2 separate regions of the Homo sapiens genome follow, and region 1 is linked to region 2. The links are contacts of gene promoters, found by promoter capture Hi-C in human tissues and cell types (Jung and others, 2019). All regions are on one chromosome and are shown on one strand. Each heading gives the region's core, a stretch centred on a gene start or on the middle of the fragment in contact. The rest is flanking DNA. Distances are from core to core; before and after follow the strand shown.

Region 1 (3,419 bases), core at 623-3,122, 240 kb after region 2:
GGACACTTCTTATTCACTAATCAGACGGTTTGCGGTTGCCCTTTGCCACATCTGTGGCTGCCTTCCTGGGCCTGTCGAGCTCACAATTAAGGTTCATTAGAGACCCTGTCAGTCATAGCACGCACAGAGCCTGCCTGAGAGAGGCCTTGCCAAGGGGCTGGCCAGCCCCATGCCCCCACCAAAATGAGTCCCTTTGCAAATGACTGCCAACCAAATTCTAGAGGCTTTGTGTACAGGAGAGGGGGTGTGAGCAGCGCTTGTGAAGCTCCAGACTCTCGGGTCCTAATGGGCCCATTGCCTTTTATGTAATTGAAACCTTCAGGCGAGCTCTCGAATTGATGTTCCAGATGGTGGCGGCGGGAGTGCTGTCAGATGGACGCTTTGGAGGGATCATCTGACAGCCGGCCCCTCCGAAAAGAGATTTGGAGCCAAATGCAGAAGAGATTTAATGATCGTTAATCTCCCTCTCCCTCTTTCTGGAATATATTGGGACTCTTAATTACTATTGACTGGAAGCTAAAACAACACTCCTAGTTCAGAACAAAACTCTTCAGGAGATTTGCCCCAGGCTGAAAGGATTATCCTTCATACAAGGGGATTTTTTTTTTTTTTTTTTTTTTTTGCCTCTTTCTAGCTATGTGTTGAACATCAGTTGGGAGTAGAGGAGATATGTACATCAGGTGTTTTAAAGAGGCTTAATACTTCTTCGCCCGCATTGTTTTCCTGTCTCATTGACCTTCCTAGTCCCAAACGCTGCCTGTAGGGGCAGCCAAATCTCCACGTTTTATCTAACGCACTGAAAGCACTGCTGTGTGCTGTAACTGTACTCTTAGCACTGGAGGGCCCTCTGGCTTCCGAGCACCTGCGGGATGCCATGATGCTCACCTCTATCCCCAGACCCTAACACAGTGCCTGGCCACATGTCGATATGGCCACAAATAAATATGAGATAATGAACCAAAAACCCTGCTATCCCCAAATTCTGAGGGGAGTCCACATTAGACATTCTAGGCTGTGTGATCTGAGACCCAGAGATGAGAAGGGACGGATGCCTCTTGGAGCTGAGCTATGACTCAGGAGACCTCAGCCCCTGGGACTCAAGGGCTGGTGGTCCCGGCAGGTGGCAGTATATGGACAGAGTCTTTAAGGTCACGGAGTCATGAGTTAGCTGGGGCTGGGAGCATGCATCCTGAATATCTAGGTGACCCTCGGTAAGCTACCAGACTCCAGGCCTCAGTTTCCTCATCTGTGTAATGGAGAGAATTCTGGATTTGCCTCACTCTAAAAGAGGACAATTGTGAATATTAAAGGAAGTCATGTAGGGAAAATACTTGGTGCAAATCATCCAAAGAAGGTGGTGGAATCCCTGACAGGAGCGGCTGGAATCCACTGCTTTCCCATGATTGCTGAGCTGTCCTTTTAAGGAGGAGGGTGCGTGCCCCTTGTCAAAAGCAGCCTGCGTTTCCCTGTTTGGCCAGATAGGTGGGTGAATGCTGCTTGATCGGGCTCTGAAATGTCCTGCCTTCTTCCAGGTGGGAGAGGGACTGTGAGGTGAGCTCAGATCTTGCAATGACAAGCGAGCATTTTTCCCATTACCTCTTTTTTTTTTTTTTTTTTTTTAACATGGAGTTTTGCTCTGTCACCCAGGCTGGAGTACAGTGGCGTGATCTCGTCTCACTGCAGCCTCCACCTCCCGAGTTCAAGTGATTCTCCAGCCTCAGCGTCTGGAATAGCTGGAACTACTGGCCTGTACCACCGTGCCTGGCTAAGTTTTGTATTTTTAGTAGAGATGCGGTTTTACCAATTTGGCCAGGCTGGTTTCAAACTCCTGACCTCAAGTGATCTGCCTGCCTCGGCCTCCCAAAGTGCTGAGATTACAGGCATGAGCCACTGCGCCCAGCCATATTTTTTTTTTTTTTTTTTTTTTTTTTGAGATGGAGTCTCAGTCTGTCTCCCAGGCTGGAGTGCAGTTGTACGATCTTGGCTCACTGCAACTTCTGCCTGCCCAATTCAAGCGATTCTCCTGCTTCAGCCTCCCGAGTAGCTGGGACTACAGGTGTGTACCACTATAGCCAGCTAATTTTTGTATATTTAGTAGAGACGAGATTTCACCATGTTGGCCAGGCTAGTCTCAAACTCCCGACCTCAAGTGATGCCACCGTGCCCGGCCTACTACTGTTACCTCTTGTACTTCAACCTCTTGAGTCTTGATGCTGCAGGCGTTAAGTAGGGCATGTGACAGGGAGGAACTGCGGCTGGAGTCCAGGAGGGAGGCAGGCAGAAGGGGCACTGGGTGCAGCTCAGGCTGCTGAAGGCCAGTGGAGATGTAGTTCCACCTGCCCAAAGCGGGGTCACTTTTTTACAGAGTGCCATCCACCTTATCCAGCCTGTTGGGTGAAGGTATGTCCCAATCCTCATTTTAGAGCAGTTCAATGAATGTTTATTGCTACTGCTCCTCCCTGCATTACTGGAGTGTTATAATAGCCTGTAGACAGGCCTTCCTGCCTGTCATCCCCTGCCTGCTCTGCATACAGAGTAGTCTTGCCAAAATGCACTTCGGATAATGTCCCTTAATGACTCCACATTGTCGGGATCAAGCCCGGAGAACACATCTAGGTGGAAGAGCTCTTGATCTGGCCCTGCCCCTTCCTCCTGTCTCCTTGTCTTGCACACTCCCAGGCCTGTGCCCTGTCTTGTTGCATCTTTGTACATGCCGTTTCCTTGACTGGGACACATGTCCACACCAACTCTGCTCCCTCTAACTGCTCATCTTCCCATCTCCGCTGGAGCCTCACTTCCCTCACCCTGCCCCCCAGCATGCCCCTTGCTTCTCCTGTCTCTTGGACTTGCTCCATCCTAGGAGCTTTGGCTCTTGGAGGGCAGGGATCTTTTCTTTTGTTCACCTTTGTATCCCCACTGTCAAGCCTGAAGCGGACATTCAGTGAGTGCATGCCTACTTGAGCCCCCATGAATGCAAGGCCCTGCCTAAGCTGAAGCACCAGGGTCAGAGTGACAACAGAATAGTTGTGTCTTTAAAGAGCTCATAGCCACGGTGGGAGCCAGATAACCCAGGATGGATAGAATGCAAGGCTTCTTTTTTTTTGTTTTGTTTTAGAGATGGAGTTTTGTTCTTGTTGCCCAGGCTGGAGTGTGATGGCACAATCTTGGCTCACTGCAACCTCTGCCTCCCTGGTTCAAGCAATTCTCCTGCCTCAGCCTCCCAAGTAGCTGGGATTACAGGTGCCTGCCACCACCCCCAGCTAATTTTTTGTATTTTTAGTAGAGATGGAGTTTCACCATGTTGGCCATGCTGGTCTCGAACTCCTGACCTCAGGTGATCTACCCGCCTCGGCCTTCCAAAGTGCTGGGATTACAGAGGTGAGCCACCGCTCCCAGCCAGAATGCAAGGCTTCTGATGT
Region 2 (3,536 bases), core at 17-2,516:
AAATTGCTTCCCCGCCAGCGCCCGGTCTTTGGCCTCCAGCCCTGACCTCTGTTTTCCTGGGGTGCCCCTAGTTACAGGCTGGTGGCGTCCAGCTTGGGGAGCGAGGGCCTCCGAAAGCCTGGAAGTGTGGCTTTCTCCCTTGATGCCCGCCAACCTCCGGCCACGCCAAGGCAGGCGGCTGCCCCCTTTGCCGCCGCTTGTAAACGATCAGAATCGCCCCGCCCTGGGAGCGGGCCGGGCAGGTGGCCCGCAGCAGGGCCTGTCGTCCAGCCGGCCTCGCGGGGGTGGAATTCTTAAGAAAACTGAGCCCCCGGAAAGGCTGGCTCTCCCTGCCCCAGACTCAATTCCAGGGAGATGACCCGGGCCAGGCCTCGGGGCCGGCGGGAGGCAGGGGGAGGGTTTGCCGCACCCGGTCTAGGAAACTATTCGTGAACCCCGCTGGGGGAAGGCGAGCCTCCGACACTGGGGGATTGTCTGGATCGGAGGGCGGGGGATCAGGGAGAGGCGCAGACACAGGGCGAGACCCCCACAGAGGGCAGCGCAGAGACAGAGAGAGGGAGAGAAAAGCCAGAGGCAGAGACACAAACGCGGGCAGCCGAACACGGAGGCAGGCGGGGAACGGAAAGAGACGGGCAGACCAGGGGAAAGTGAGCGGCGGAAACGGAGCGACGGAGAGACAGACACACGGACGTGGGGACCGAAGCAGAGGGGGCCGCGGGAGGCGGAAACGTCCAGAGCCGAGAGGCGCGGCGCGGCGAGGCCCGGGCACGGCCGGGGGACATGCGAGCCCGGCCCGCCCGGCCACGCATCTCCCTCCCTCGCTCCCTCTCTCCCCCGGCCGCGGAAACTCCGATCCAGAAACGGAACCCTGGGGCGAGTCTGGGGACGGGCTCCGGACGCGGCGGTGCCCCCCGGCCACCCCGTGCCGCGCCCACGTCCCCAGCGCCGGCGTCCGGAGGCGCCCGCCAGGTCCCCCAGGGCTCCTGAGCTCGGCGGCGGCGCCTCCACCCGGTGCCCGCGGCCGCCGGACGCGCCGGGGGACGCAGCTCCGGGCTGGGGGCGCGGCACTGCCCCCGCGGCCGAAGCCTCTGGAAGCCGGGCGCCCGCGTGCCGACCCGGGCGGGACTTACCGCGCGCGCCCGCCGGTCCTGCGGAGCTGGGTGCGGGGGTCGCGGGCCCGGGCGCCCCAGGAGGCTCGGCGAGGCGGCCGGCAGGGCGGGGGGCGGCCCCGCGACGCTCGGCTGGGCTGCGCTGCGCGCTGTCTGCGGCCCCGGGCGGGCGCGCGGCGCGGGGGAGCGGCTCCGACGTCAGGGTGGCTCCCTCCAAACAGGGCGCGAGGGCGGGGGCAGCGGGGAGGGCCGCGCGCAGAAAGAGCGGGCGGGCGCGCGCGGCCTCTCCCTCCGGGTGCGCAGGAGGGGGCGCCGCGGCGGCAGGGGCCCCGGGCCCTCTCCTGGCCCGCCCGCCCCGGGCTGAGCTTCGGCGCGCTCCGACGGCGTGGTGGGGCGGCCGGGACGCCTGGCCGGCGCCCGAGAGGCAGGGCAGCCCAGCCGGGCGCCCTGGCCCGTTCTTAAGCGCCCTCCCCGGGTTTCTCTGCGCTTCCACTCTCTCCGCCCGACTTTTACCGAGCCTGGGCCGTCAGGCCGTGCCAGGCCTCGGGGTGACAAAGATGGATGTGTCCTTTTTGTGGGCACCGGGCATTGCAGACTTGCCCCGAGAGTGGGGCGCCCCAGCCCGCCGCGTCCCGGCACCAGGAGTCCCCAGTTCTGCGGTGCACCTCATCCCGTCCGCTCCGGCATGCGACCCGGTTCAAGTCCGTGCTGTTGGTAGCCTGGGTTGCTCAGCCTTGCCTAGTGTTATCCTAGTGTCGCTCTCGGCCCCACGCCCTTGGCTTAAGCATCCCGAAAAGCCCCAGGGACTTATTAGGAACTAAAAAGCCAGCAAATGAACTCACTTCTCTGACTCCTGGGAAGAGTGGAGCTCCTGGCCCCAGCTTCCAGCCTCACCTCGGGGGTTCCTATCTAATCAGTGGGCACTTGGGTGGATTGCGGCCGTACCTTCTCTATTCTGTGTGCTTAACAACGGGGTGAGAAAATAACTTTGCTTCTGGAAAGTGGTGGCCCAGGGACACCACTGGGACACGATTGTAGGACTTGGGGATTTTGCTTTACAGCATAGTTACCTGTGTCCATGTGTTTTACCTAGCTTGGCTGGAAACTTCCAGATAGACACAGCCCTGCTTGTCTGACTCATGAGGTTGCCGGGCATCCTGGGTGGCTCCTAGTGGCCTGCTGGGAACTCCCTGGTGTACTCCAGCCTACTCGCACCCTCCACACCCAGCCTGCATCTGCGCCTCCTAGCTGTTGCCTGCGCCCTTCCCTCTGCCCGGAATTCCCTTCCCCTCCTTTCATCTCTGGCAAACATTCTTCCAGCTCCAGATTGGAAAGCCTTCCCAAGACCCTTTGGGAGCATCTCCCTCCTCCAGTGTGATCCTGGAGCACAGGATGAGAACTTCTGTTCATGTCAATTTCCCTCTAGAATAACTGTGTACATCTCTTGGGCAAACATTCTTCCAGCTCCAGATTGGAAAGCCTTCCCAAGACCCTCTGGGAGCATCTCCCTCCTCCAGTGTGATCCTGGAGCACAGGATGAGAACTTCTGTTCATGTCAATTTCCCTCTAGAATAGCTGTGTACATCTCTTTCCTCCATTAGACCTTGAGGGCAGGAATCGTGTTTATTTCAGTGTCTCCATTGCTTATGGGCAGGCCAGGTGAGATGTACAATGTATTTGGTTGAATGAAGTTGTTGTTGTTGTTGTTGTTGTTGTTATTATTATTATTATTAGAGACAGAATTTTGCTCTTGTTGCCCTGGCTGAAATGCAATGGCGTGATCTCGGCTCACTGCAACCTCTGCCTCCCAGGTTCCAGCAATTCTCAGCCTCCCGAGTAGCTGGGATTACAGACGCCCACCACCACGCCCAGCTAGTTTTTGTATTTTTAGTAGAGATGGGGTTTTGCCATGTTGCCCAGGCTGGTCTCCAACTCCTGGCCTCAAGTGATCCTCCCGCCTCAGCCTCCCAAAGTGTTGGGATTATAGGCATGAACCACCACGCCCAGCGAATAAAGTAATTATTATCCCCCATTAATGTAGCACAGATAGGTCTTCCCTTAATGGTAACTATGACCGTTATAATAGTTCACACATATTGAGCACCTTACCATGTGCCTCATCCCATTGCAAGCTGTTGCCACTCTCACAATAAACCTATGAGGTAAGTATTGTCTCTGTTTTAAAAGTGCCAGGCGCAGTGGCTCATGCTTGTAATCCCAGCACTTTGGGAGGCCAAGGCAGGAGGATCACTTGAGGTCAGGAGTTCGAGACCAGCCTGGCCAATATGGCGAAACCCTCTCTCTACTAAAAATACAAAAATCAGCCAGGTGTGGTGGCGTGTGCCTGTAGTCCCAGCTACTCGGGAGGCTGAGGCAGGAGAATCACTTGAACCTGAGAGGCGGAGGTTGCAGTGAGCCGAGATCGCA

What was found. Contacts are between HindIII fragments. The study calls those that stand out against the background at their distance.
Region 1: a contact is called between a fragment that was not itself captured here and the fragment with the promoter of NBL1 in region 2, in 7 of the 25 tissues and cell types used here (H1 embryonic stem cells, IMR-90 fibroblasts, heart left ventricle and 4 more).

The regions. Positions count from the first base shown.
Region 1 is chr1:19,402,745-19,406,163 of GRCh38, reverse strand. All of the region lies in intron 2 of CAPZB (capping actin protein of muscle Z-line subunit beta), which reads left to right. Among named protein-coding and RNA genes, the nearest start is that of CAPZB, 81 kb to the left of the region's middle. RefSeq lists an enhancer at 2,948-3,419. The HindIII fragment of the contact is 4,541 bases long and covers 1-3,419 here.
Region 2 is chr1:19,642,041-19,645,576 of GRCh38, reverse strand. NBL1 (NBL1, DAN family BMP antagonist) reads right to left here and starts at 1,266. Exons shown (of 4, transcript NM_005380.8): 1 at 1,131-1,266. All of the region lies in intron 1 of MICOS10-NBL1 (MICOS10-NBL1 readthrough), which reads right to left. RefSeq lists a silencer at 1,181-1,520 and an enhancer at 1,419-2,254. The HindIII fragment of the contact is 7,978 bases long and covers 287-3,536 here.